3 separate regions of the Homo sapiens genome follow, and all the other regions are linked to region 2. The links are contacts of gene promoters, found by promoter capture Hi-C in human tissues and cell types (Jung and others, 2019). All regions are on one chromosome and are shown on one strand. The core of a region is centred on a gene start or on the middle of the fragment in contact, and the rest is flanking DNA. Distances in the headings are between cores, read along the strand shown. Region 1 overlaps EVI5 (ecotropic viral integration site 5). Region 2 holds the start of GLMN (glomulin, FKBP associated protein). Region 3 overlaps TGFBR3 (transforming growth factor beta receptor 3).

The links. Contacts are between HindIII fragments. The study calls those that stand out against the background at their distance.
Region 1: a contact is called between a fragment that was not itself captured here and the fragment with the promoter of GLMN in region 2, in 1 of the 25 tissues and cell types used here (heart left ventricle).
Region 3: a contact is called between a fragment that was not itself captured here and the fragment with the promoter of GLMN in region 2, in 1 of the 25 tissues and cell types used here (heart right ventricle).

The regions. Positions count from the first base shown.
Region 1 is chr1:92,666,301-92,670,338 of GRCh38, reverse strand. The region is part of intron 10 of EVI5 (ecotropic viral integration site 5); the gene reads left to right. Among named protein-coding and RNA genes, the nearest start is that of EVI5, 120 kb to the left of the region's middle. The HindIII fragment of the contact is 7,230 bases long and covers 1-4,038 here.
Region 2 is chr1:92,296,995-92,301,213 of GRCh38, reverse strand. It overlaps GLMN (glomulin, FKBP associated protein), which reads left to right and starts at 2,227. Exons shown (of 19, transcript NM_053274.3): 1 at 2,227-2,289; 2 at 3,185-3,253; 3 at 3,685-3,810. The coding sequence starts at 3,215. It overlaps RPAP2 (RNA polymerase II associated protein 2), which reads right to left and starts at 2,155. Exons shown (of 13, transcript NM_024813.3): 1 at 2,068-2,155; 2 at 975-1,020. The coding sequence starts at 2,140. RefSeq lists enhancers at 1,742-1,971, 2,192-2,661, 2,233-3,129 and a silencer at 2,393-2,730. The HindIII fragment of the contact is 5,439 bases long and covers 854-4,219 here.
Region 3 is chr1:91,807,206-91,811,342 of GRCh38, reverse strand. The region is part of intron 2 of TGFBR3 (transforming growth factor beta receptor 3); the gene reads left to right. Among named protein-coding and RNA genes, the nearest start is that of TGFBR3, 77 kb to the left of the region's middle. RefSeq lists an enhancer at 1,682-1,791. The HindIII fragment of the contact is 3,821 bases long and covers 1-3,307 here.

The sequences.
Region 1 (4,038 bases), core at 1,377-3,876, 370 kb before region 2:
TGTAAACTGAGTAAGCTGGAAAGAATAGGAAATAGTGATTGAAGAGTGGGTTATTTGAAATGAGATTATCCTATTTCAGGATATAAGGTTGTTTTCAGTTTTTCTTATTAAAAATAATGCTAATGGTTAACATCTTTGTATATAACAAGTTTTTTGTCTCCTATTATTATTTCCATAGCCAGTTATAAAAAGTAGAATTAATAAGTTACAAGATATTAGCATTTTAAAGACTTTTGATGTATAATACGTAAATTTCCTAAAGAATGTGTCCAGGGTATGTTTGTCTTAGCAACAAGTTTCCATTTAATGACTACTTTGCCAACACTAAGTATTTCATTCTTGCTCTCACTTTTAGTCTCTTTTTTTTCTAATTTGGTAGGTCAAAAAATTGTCTCTATTTTCTTTTTCAATGTACAAGATAAACATTTGTATGTAGCTATATCTAGGTATCTTCCTCTCTGTGGTTTTCACTTTAAAGTTTAGGAAGCACTCTATTCTAGAAAATGTGAGGAAGATATTGAAGAATTATTGAGAATCAATCAGGTGGTAGATTTTAGTTATTAACCTTTCTATGTATCGTCAATAAACAGTTCAAAAATATACTGGAAGAAGTTCCATTTGAAATAAAAATAAAAGTATATCTAGGAGTAACCTAAATGAAAAATAGAATAGGACCTAACAAACACTGGAAAACTTTACACACAGACATTTTAAAAAGATAACTAAAGATAGACAAAAATAGCTCCATGTTATATAAAGATATGAATTTCCCAGTGATTTTTTTTTTTTTTGAGACAGAGCCTTGCTCCGTTGCCCAGGCCGGAGTGCAGTGGCATGGTCTTGGCTCACTGCAACCTTCACCTCCTGGATTCAAGTGATTCTCCTGCCTCAGCCTCCTAAGTAGCTGGGATTACAGGCATGCGCCACCATGCCAGGCTGATTTTTGTATTTTTAGTAGAGATGGGGTTTTGCCATGTTGGCCTGGCTGGTCTCGAACTTCTGGCCTCAAGTGATCCACCTGCCTTGGCCTCCCAAAGTTCTGGGATTACAGCTGTAAACCATTGTACCTGGCCCTCAAATTCAGTGAAATTTAATTCCTTGTAAAATTCCAGGGCAATAAAAAAATCTTAAGAATAATTCTAAAAATAGACAAAAGTAGTAAAATAATATTCATGCCTAACTTCAAAACTATTGTGGGCAGTGCTTATCATTAACTGAGTATTTGGCATATATTAGGTGCTATGCTATCTCATTTAATTTTTCAGTTCCCTGTAGGTTTGATTACTCTTAATTTCTGGATGAGGAAATGGAGATTCTAAAACATTGAATGTCATGTGCAAGTGTTAATTGTAGAATGAGAATTTGAACTTAAATCTGCCTAACTTCAAAACCTAGTCTCTTAGCTACTTTAGTATACTAGTATTTGGGGTTTGGGAACAATAAACAAATGTAAGAACAGGGGATATTAGCTCTACTAGGTATTAAAACAGATAGCAAAGCTATAATTACCAAAATACTGTGATATTAGTTTTAAAAAAAGAAGACAGTAACACTTGAAACGTAAAAGTAACCCTGAAATGGTCTGTATTAACTGAAAAAGTCTATTGATCAATTCCTGATGTAAATATTATACAAATGAGGAAGTGGTGATTTATTTTTTAAATGGTGTTAAGCATTTGGTTAGTTGTTTGTGGGAGAAAATCAATTTAGATTTTTATTTATAATGAAATAGATTTCAGAAGCCGTAAAAGGGGTTGGGGAAGGAAATCCAGATGAGTGTTTTCAGTTCTAAATTTTATTTTAGCATGATTTCTGTCATAACTTTATTCACTCAGTTGTCTGGTGGGAACTTAGTTTTCTAAATCTTTTAAGATAAAACATTACCTTTTGTTGATGAAATATGATTGAGAACATTTTGAGAATCCCATTTATTTCTTTGGCTCTCTAGACTTTAGCAGCATTTAATAATTGCTTATTTGTGTAGACTACTATGCTGCACACAGTAGGAGGAGCCAAGACATAAGAACATTTTCTACTTCTCAAGCTGTTATTTTGTCTGAGATTAGTTATTAACTTTCCTGTATATCATAATGTCTATTTCAGATCATCTGAATTTTAGTGAATAGAACAAGAAATCTAATTTGCCAAGTATCTTTGTAATAACTCTAAGATTTGTTTCAATTTGTGATCCACTTTAATAAGATGCAGTAATTCATAGAGTCTCTCATTTCCCTGAACTAATACTTTATATGTTATATAAAGCCATATTTAAGTCTTTACTGGCAAAATAATAGGTTGAATTGATGGAAGAATTTTCTGAGACAGACATTTTTTAGCAGAAATTTATAGGAAGGTGGGGCTGGAAGAAGGCCCTTGATTGAGTTCTGGAACAAATTGGTACAAAAAAGTAAGTTATCACCTTGAGGCCGGGCACAGAGGCTTATGCCTGTAATCCCAGCATTTTGGGAGGCTGAGGCGGGCGGATCATGAGGTCAGGAGATCAAGACCATCCTGGCTAACACGGTGAAACCCCCTCTCTACTAAAAATACAAAAAATTAGCTGAGCGTGGTGGCATGTGCCTGTAGGTCCAGCTACTCAGGAGGCTGAGTCAGGAGAATCGCTTGAACCTGGGAGGCAGAGGTTGCAATGAGCTGAGATCGCACCACTGCATTCCAGCCTGGGCGACAGAGTGGGACAACATCTGAGGAATTTGAAAATGAAAAGATAACTTATAAAGGGGATTAATAAGCAATTATACTGGTGGATATGCAAAAATAACTTTTTAAAAATGTAGAGTGACTTGGATTTAATACTTAATGACAGTAATTAGACAAGTTTTTTGGGAACCAGGCATTGAATAATTAGGTAAAGTGCTTTTCAAAAAAATCTGGTTTTACTTTTTGAACTATGAGGAGATACTAGTAATTGGAGTTGTTTTCTCAGAAAAAATTAATAAATTCTTTGTATTTTCAGAATTTTGCAACTTGTCATCTATACTGTATAATAAATGGAGACTATTGAAGTCTAAATGGGCAATTTTTTTTTTTTAAATTTGAGACAAGGTCTTGCTCTGTTGCCCAGGATGGAATGCTGTGATGTGATACTGGCTCACTGCAACCTCCACTTCCAGGGCTGAGGCCGTCTTCCCCCTGAGCCTCCTGAATAGCTGGGACTACAGGCACATGCCACTACGCCCAGCTAATTTTTATATTTTTTGTAGAGACAGGGTTTTGCCATGTTGTCCAGGCTGGTCTTGAACTCAAGCTCAAGTGATCCACCTGCCTGGTCTCCCAAAGTGGATTGCAGGTGTGAGCCACTGAGCCAGGCCCTAAATGGAAAATTTGATGTTTAGCCTATGAACGTGCATTTTTTAGATCTCCTGTTTCTTCATTCAACTGACATTTGAATATTAATTATATAGGTAGGCTCTGTTGGAGGTAGGCAAGTTAGAATCTTTTTTGTCTAATGAGGATGTTAAAACACATAAGAAAATATTTGATTATGAGTCATTATGGTAAGTATGTATAGAAATGGAAGGGCTTATTTCTATATGTACTGTAGAGTGTATTTAAATTTAATCACAGCTGGAATGATGAATGTGAGTATTTCCTTTGCTGTGGTGTATTTATTTCTCTTTCTTTATCCCTTTCCTTTCCCTTCTTTTTCCTTTTCTTTTTCCTCTTTCCTTTCCTTTCTTCTCCCCTTCCCTCCCCTCCCAACCCCTCCCTTCCCCTCCCCTCCCCTCCCTTTTTTGGACACAGGGTTTCACTCTGTCTCCCAGGCCGGAGTACAGTGGTCCAATCTCGGCTCACTACAACTTCCACCACCCCCACCTCAGCCCCCACCTCCCAGCCCCCCACCTCAGCCCCCACCTCCCAGCCTCCCACCTCAGCCTCCCAGGTAGCTGGGACGACAGATTCGCACCACCATTCTGTGTGTGTATGTGTGTGCATGCATGCATGTGTGTGTGTGTGTTTTTCATAGAGACAAGGTTTCACCCTGTTGCCCAGGCTCATCACCACCATTCCTGGCTAAAT
Region 2 (4,219 bases), core at 978-3,477:
CCACATCCGGCCAAATTTCTGTTTTCTAATGCTGTTACTTTTGATCCAATACTTTTCAAAAAGGAAACAAGCTACTTTTTGCACTGCACATACATAAGTCTTTATATACTCTTTGTATGGTTAATGTCTACTTAGCACGCAGGTCTCAGCATAAGGCTTTCGCTGAAAACTCACAGCCAACCTCCCTGCCACCCACCTCCAACTAAATTAGACTTCGTTATTCCTTCTCGTAACATCACAGTCTTTTCCTTCATAGTGCTTATCACAATTTGTAATTATGTATTTGTTTATGTTAATTAACTAATTAATTTATTATTATTTATTCCTCTGTTCCACTAGGCAAGAACTGTGTCTATTCTGTTCACCATATCTTCAGAGCCTAACACAGGTCCGACATATCTTATACTCAATAAATAATTTTTGAAAGAATGAGTAAATTAAGACCAAAGCCAATATAAGATTAGTGAGTCTTCACAAAATAAAAATCATAGCTACATATGCTTTTAATCCCCTTCACATTCTACTCCTCTTCTAGAAACTCTGTGTGATATGTGGTAATATCTTGCCTTTTTAGAACCAGAACTAGTACAAGACAGCTTTTTAATGAAAATCTGGACTTGATGTAACAAAGAACAGAAAAGGTTTCTTGGAGTGACAGCGAAACTTGGAGAGTGAGTCTCTGGCATATAAAGCAATAAAAGGAGAGTGTACCTGAAGCGGTGAAAAACAAACACCTTCTACAGACACTCATTCCTTCACTAGCAGTCTGAGTGCTTAGTTTGGTTTTCTTAAAGCCTGGAGTAGAGGAATGTAACAGTCTATGTGAGAATTTATAGGCCTTCCCAGATCTTTCCCTTCCCTCTCATGATAATTTTCTCTAAAAAAAAAAAGGTAACCATTATTGTTTTAAAATTGGTACAAGTAATACAAGATAAGTAGATATGCCAATGTAGTTGTCCATGTAGCTGTCATACCTTTTAGAAGCATCTTCTTGTTTCAAAGTACTTGTCTGTTTAGTACCTACAATAAAAATACAGTCATGTGCTACATAATGACATTTCCGTAAACGACGGACAGCATACAGACAGCGGTCTCATAAGATTAAAATACTGTATTTTTACTGTACCTTTTCTATGTTTAGATATACAGTTGCCTACAGTACTTAGTACAGTAACATGCTGTGCAGGTTTGTAGCCTGGGAGCAATAGGCTGTACCATATAGCCTAGTGTGTAAGTAGGCTGTACCATCTAGGTTTGTGTAAGTGCACTCGATGATGGTCACACAAGGATGAAATCGACTAACAACTTATTTCTCAAAATGCATCCCCGCAGTTAAGCTACACATGGTGGCAGTAGGTCAGGTCTACACAAACACATTAGGTACAAGATAGATTCCTACACAAATAACAAACTGTAGACCACCTTTTCTTCTTTTCCACATATTTTATGTCCAATCGTGTGTAAATCAAAATGAAATAGGAAGGGAGAGCAATTTGTTTTTGCAAATTGATTACTGTCTAATTTTTCTTGGTTAAAATGTATCTCTTTGGGGATTGAATTTTCTTCTGTATCATAGTTGCTTAATTAACCACTCCTGAAAATCTGAGATCTGGGTACTTTTAGGGGAAACCTCTCTCCGTCTGCCAAACGTCCTCTCTGGGGGAAGAGGGGAGTCCGGCACCTTAAAGAACTGGGCACCCAAGCAATCTGGAAAGGAGGACCGGTCCTAGGTTCAAGGCCAGCTGCCAACGCTGCCCTAGTCACTTGCCCCGAAACCCGGGGACCCCAGGCCTGGGTTCCCGGGGCCTCCACTGTCCTTTGTCTCAGAGGCTGGGGCCACAGTCCGCGTGAGGGAAATCTTGGAACACTGGCGTAAAGGGGTGAGGGGCGGCCAGGAAATCTTTCCCAGGAGGTGCGGACGGCGGTGGGAAGCTTTCGGCCTACTCTACCTGGGAGAACCCCTCCCCTGAAGCAGCCTTTCAGGAGCGCCCGCGCGCTGCGGTCTATAACTCGAGATCGGGGCCCAGCTTTCAGGGTCCAAAAGTGGGAAGAGATCCTTGCTCCTACCTGCGGCTTTTCGAGAGCAGCGGGGAGCCCCGGCCTTGCGGCCGGCAGAAGACGGCCCAGCGAAGTCCGCCATGGGGGAGAGTAGTCTGCCGGACGGGGACACGCTCCGGCGTCTCGCCCCGAGGCCCCGCCTCCCTACGCGTAGCGCGGGGCGGGGCCAGAAGAGCGGGCTAAGACGCCGGAGGAGGTGGCGGCGGCTGGGAGAGGCGAGGGTTCTGGCCGGTAAGTGGAGTTGTGGAGAGGTTCAGGGTGGCCAGGGCTCGCGGTTGGCCGTGAGCCGCGGCGGACTTGGTGCTGCGGGCCGACTAGGCCACGCGAGGTGGTGGAGCCTGCCCACCTAGGCGAGCAGGAATCGGAAGACATGGCTTCCTCTGATGCAGCCCGCACGCGCGCTGGGGTGTTCACTCGCCTTCCAGCGCGCTGCCCTGAGGACCGGGCTGACTCGCGCCCCTACTGAGGGCTTGGGGCCGAGCCTTGCCGCCAGGAGAAGCGATGGTCTCCTCCTGAAGGCCGCCGTTGTCTTGTCTCCGTGTGATACAGTGATTTCACTAGCTGGATTGATCACTTTGGGGACTGCAACTCCTAGAGAGAAATGGAATGGAGGGCATCTGAATCTTCACCCCCTATAGATAAGCTTGTGTTGCACCCCAATTTTTGTGAGGTGAGACATTAAAAATGAAAAATCCCCTGATGATTAGAATTTTGATTTCAGGTCCACCTTTTGGAAATTTTTTTTCAGAAAAGAAGTGCTTTGCTTTTTAAAAGCCCTTTAGTTCGTATATGCCTCGCCTCTTGGGAGTGCTCGAGAGGTTTTTTTTGTTTTTTTTTCCTTCAAAGTAGCTTTCAAAACTATGCTCCTAGAAAACTTAAAACATGCAATAAGGGCTTCTAAAAAAACACTTTATTTTCTTAGGCAAACATACTAAGATTCAGTAATAACATTTCAACTTTAAAACTTTACATTTTCTCCTAGCATGCTATTGGACCAAAAAACACAACAACAAAAACTTTCCATTTTCTTTATTGTATTTACTAATAATTTATCACACTGAAACATAACTTTTGAATACTTAAGTGTAATATCACGGATAGTTAACAGTGTGTTTTGTATTTGTAGATTTTAGCATCGAAACTAGGAGAAATAAGAATGGCTGTAGAGGAACTTCAGTCTATAATAAAGAGATGTGTAAGTATTAATTTTTGTAAAATTAAATACCTTTCAAAATATGGGAAGGGCACAGATTGTTTTTAATTATATTTGTGGTCACTCAAATTGTTTATCTTCTTTAATCCTTGCTTTTTTTGACCTGTAAAGAGCATGAGTGGGGGAGGCAGATTGGATTATTTCTCCAGGTGACATACTTATCTAAATAACCTTTTACATTTTAATCCTGATCCTTTTCATAGATTTCACTGGTACAGTAGATTTCAAGGTCACTTATTAAAGTATTTATTAGGGTAATCCTAATTTTGATACGTGTGTTATTTACGTTACATTTATCTAGAATTTAAACAGATTTCCTTTTTTCATAGATAAATCAAGAAGTTATTGTATTTAATTTTTATTTGCATATACTTTTTTTTGTTTGTTTTTTGGGTTTTTTTTTTTTTTGCCAGCAAATCCTAGAAGAGCAAGACTTTAAAGAAGAGGATTTTGGCCTATTTCAGTTAGCTGGGCAAAGATGCATAGAAGAAGGGCACACAGACCAGCTATTAGAAATTATTCAAAATGAAAAGAATAAGGTGCGTACAATCTTGGTGTTTACTTTTCAGTCTTGGGAAGAGAATAATCACATGATGCTATTCATCCAGTCATTTATCCATCAAACATTTAAGAATCTACTTAAATTTTCACAGTAGGGAACTGAAAACAAAAAAAGAATTAGAAATATTTAGGCCAGGCGCAGTGGCTCACGTTCGTAATCACAGCGTTATGGGAGGCCAAGGCAGGCAGATCACTTGAGCCCAGGAGTTTGAGACCAGCCTGGGCAACAGAGTAAGACCCTGTCTCAGAAAAAAAAAAAAAAAAAAGAAAAGAAACAGTCATATACTTGAAGGTTTTTACCATCTGGTCAAACATAAACATGTAAACAACTAACAATAATGAGGCAAAATAAATAATTGCTATAGTTGAAGTAAAGAGTTTTTAGAA
Region 3 (4,137 bases), core at 148-2,647, 490 kb after region 2:
TCCTATTATTATTATTATTAATTTATTTTTTAAGACAAGGTCTCACTGTGTCACCCAGACTGGAGTGCAGTGGCACTATCTTGGCTCATTGCAGTCTTGACCTCCCTGGGCTCAAGGGATTCTCCCACCTCAGCCTCCTGAGTAGATGGGACTACAGGTGTGCACCACCATGCCTGGCTAATTTTTTAATCTTTTGTAGAGATGAGGTCTCACTCTCTTGCCCAGGCTGGTCTCAAACTTATGGGCTCAAACAATCCTCCCACCCTGGCCTCCCAAAGTGCTGGGATTACAGGTGTGAGCCACTGCACCTGCCTGTGATTTGTTTCCTTTTTATGATATCTATGTGAGCATCATATTTTCTTTTCATCCTGCCTGCTAGAAAGCGCAGAGCTAGGTTTGGCACTCAAATGATGTAGTTTCCTTTAGCTAAGTGCTTTGATGAAGTTTCTCTTTTGCATTTTTTTTTCCAGAACACATCTCATAGTTGAAGAGATGGTAATAATTACAGTAATACAATAATAAAAATGAGTTGATCCTAAGAACAGTCTTATGGGGCAGATCCTGTTATTATCCCCATTGTATAGATAAAGAAACAGAGGCAGGGAATGGCTAAGTAGCTGCCCCAGGTTAAAAGGCTAAAATGTGGCAGCGCTGGGATTAAACGTAGGAGACTGGCTCCATAGTCCTTAGAGAATTAGCAGCTTGGGAGTTTGGTTGTTTGGCACATGAATTCATCACTCAACAAATGTTTATGAACACGTGCCGCATGCCAGGCACTGTGTCAAGCACTGGGAGAGAGGAAGTAAAAGAAACACAGTCCTTGCCCTCATGGAGTTTCTGGTAAGTAGAGGACACACAAACATATGCCCAAATAAATGAAGCAATAGATTTATAAAAGCTTATATTTGCTATAAAGGAGTAACAGGTGTAACAGTTTAAGGGACCTCTGAATTTTATCAGGTGCAATACAAAAGTGTAGTTCTGGGCCAGGCACGGTGGCTCATGCCTGTAATCTCAGCACTTTGGGAGGCCAAGGCAGGTGGATTGCTTGAGCTCATGAGTTTGAGACCAGCCTGGGCAACATGACAAAACCCCGTCTCTACAAAAAATATAAGACATGAGCTGGTGTGGTGGCACACACCTGTAGTCTCAGCTATTCGGGAGGCCGAGGTGGGAGGATGGCTTGAGCCTGGAAGGTAGAGGTTGCAGTGAGCCCAGATCGCACCATGGTACTCCAGCCTGGGCAACAAAGCCAGACCTTGTCCCCGTCCACTTACCCCCAAAAAACTGTGGTTCTGAACCACAGCAACTGAGCCGAGCACAATCCTTCTGTCTCTCTAAGACCCAGTCTACACTGAGTAGTTCTGTTGATGGCACTGCTTGATGGGCCTGTAACTGCCACAAGCTCTGGAAAAACCAGGTCCACAGCTTCTCAGAGCCTTTTAGCTTCACTGTGAAAGGAGCAAGAGCACACCAGTGACCAGGTGTTCATAATTTCTCTGCAAATGTCAGCTCTCAGTTTCCCTCCTAACAGAAGCACCTGAAGCAGCAGGCTAGCTAGCCTGAAGAGGAAGGAATAGAGTTTAGTCTTATAATTGGGACCTATATATTAAGCTGAATAATTTGGCATTCAGTGTTAAGCATTTGACTCATTCCTGTAACCAATTGTGAGTGCCCTGATTATGTATAAACTCCTTAAAGTAAATGTGTTTTAGTTCGTGGCCCAGTGTGTACACATGGCTGTAATTAACAATATTTTGCACAGCCAAACCAAAAGTTTGCAGATTTTCCTTTTTTAATCCATGGTCTCCTATCTGCAATCAGGACCAGTGGTTATAGGCGATGATTCAACTCCCCAGCAGTTGTGGTTTCCCCCTTCTGCCCTTCCTGACCCTCTTACAGTTTCTCATCTTGCCACTTGTCTCTGCTTCAGACTCTGCACCCCAGACCCTGGCCACCAGCCCTAACAGAATGCTCACCAGGCCCAGAGCATGCCACATGCAATGCATGTTATTCCTCCGTGCTTTTGCACACATTCTTACCTCTCTTTCTCCCATCTTTTTCTTTCTTGCTAGACACCAGTTTGCAAATGATAAAAAAGAGAAAATTAGTGATCATCTTAGGTACAAATCAAGGTCTGAGAGATGAACAGATTTGGTAATGTCATCCCTCAGGGTTAATGAGGTGTAGCTTTGTAGCTCTGCAAGTCTTACTTTGCCATCAGATATTGCATTAGTAGGAATTAAGTTGTAATTTTTTTATGGGATAAAGTTCAGTTTAATATTTTGAATCTAAGTCGATAAAGCATTTGCATTTTAATAAAGAAGTGTACTATCCTTCAGTTATTTTGTATCTGCCAAATTCATAGGGTAGGAGAAAAAAGATCTTATTTTCTCCCATCCTTCAAACCTTCAGATTTGTTCTTGGTCTCTGTTCTGAGCCAATTAGGCAGTAACATCCCATAAATTCTTATCCCCTCCAAAATGAATGCTGTAGCCAGTGTCTCCTTCTGTTTAAGCTTCCTTCTTGTGAGAAGAATAGGGACAGGTGCACCATATTATTGGTCAAAAGTAAATCAGTGCTCGGTGTGGTGACTCACTTCCAGTACTCTGGGAGGCTGAGGCAGAGGCAGGTGGATCACCTGAGGCCAAGGGTTTGAGACCAGCCTGGCCAACATGGTGAAACCCCATCTCTACTAAAAATACAAAAATTAGCCGGGTGTGGTGGTGCATGCCTGTAATTCCAGCTACTTGGGAGGCTGAGGGAGGAGAATCACTCGAACCCAGGAGGCGGAATTTGCAGTGAGTTGAGATTGCGCCACTGTGCTCCAGCCTGGGCGACAGAGTGAGACTGTGTCTCCAAAAACAAAACAAAACAAAATACCAAACAAAGTAAATCAGAAGAACTGTTGGCCAAGATGATGCCAACTGATTGTCTTTATGGATTGATGGAATTCCCTGGAGGCAGAAACATGGCCTGTTCTCGCCTTTGGGAGTTGTACTTCCAGAATGTGCTCAGAGAACAGGAATTTTTACTCTAATACTGTGCATAGTTTAATTTAATTAAAAAAATTTTTTTAAAGAGATGGGGGTCTGGTTATTTTGCCCAGGCTGGTCTTGAAGTCCTGGCCTCAAGCACTCCTGCTTTGGCCTCCCATAGTGCTGGGATTACAGGCATGATTACAGGGAGTACATGCCCAGCTGTAGTTTTATTTTAAGTCTTTCCAGTGCAATTCATAGAAATAATTTCTGGGGAGTAATGCTAGGGAGTAGTATAAGAACATCTTATCTTAGATATTTTATTAATCATTCTAAAAGTTTTTAGAGAAAACAGTTTTTGATTGGAGAAAATGTTCTCATTCATTTATTTCTCTTCCCCTCAAGGGACTTTATGTCTCTAATAGTATTTGAAGTTTGTAAAGCGTTTTCACATATAGTGCATCATTTGATCTATAAGTCAAGCCTGTCATAGAATAAGAGATCATGGAATGCTTAAAACCCAGCTCCTGTATCTCCTGGTTCACTATTTCCCGGTGCTTCTGTAATACAAGGACACCTCTTGCTATGTCCAGTGGTGACTTCTGAGACATGCCACTGCTTCACTTCAGGTCATAAAAACCATGAAACATAACAGCACCACTTCCTCAGAGGGCTGCAGAAATCCCCCTCTGTTGGCACGTCCAGATTGTATAGTGGTATCTTGTTTAGATGGAAGAGTATGTGCCTTTTATAGCTTGGCACTTCCCAACACTTTGAGAATTTGGATTCCTAAAGAACCTGTGCCCTTTGTTTCCTTTTGAACATTTGAAAACACAATTGAATACAGGAAATTCTCCAACATGGTTGCTCCATGATTTCAACACAACAATACACAAATATGCACTGGCTTTTGGCCCAAAAAGTTGGTGGTTGACTTCTTGGAAGAGGGTTAGTTTGTTAGGAGGAAGGTTTGGATGTAGATTTTGCTTGGAGGGTGAAAGAAACCATGATAAGATATGCCTAAGAGTTGTGCTGTAGAAAAATCTAGTTTTTTTCCCCCTGAGAAATCCAAATTACAAGTTTTAGGACTTGTCTACCTTTTTCCTACTAGGGATAAGCTTCAGCCTGAAGCCAGGTTTTATTGTTGAAAAACCCAGGT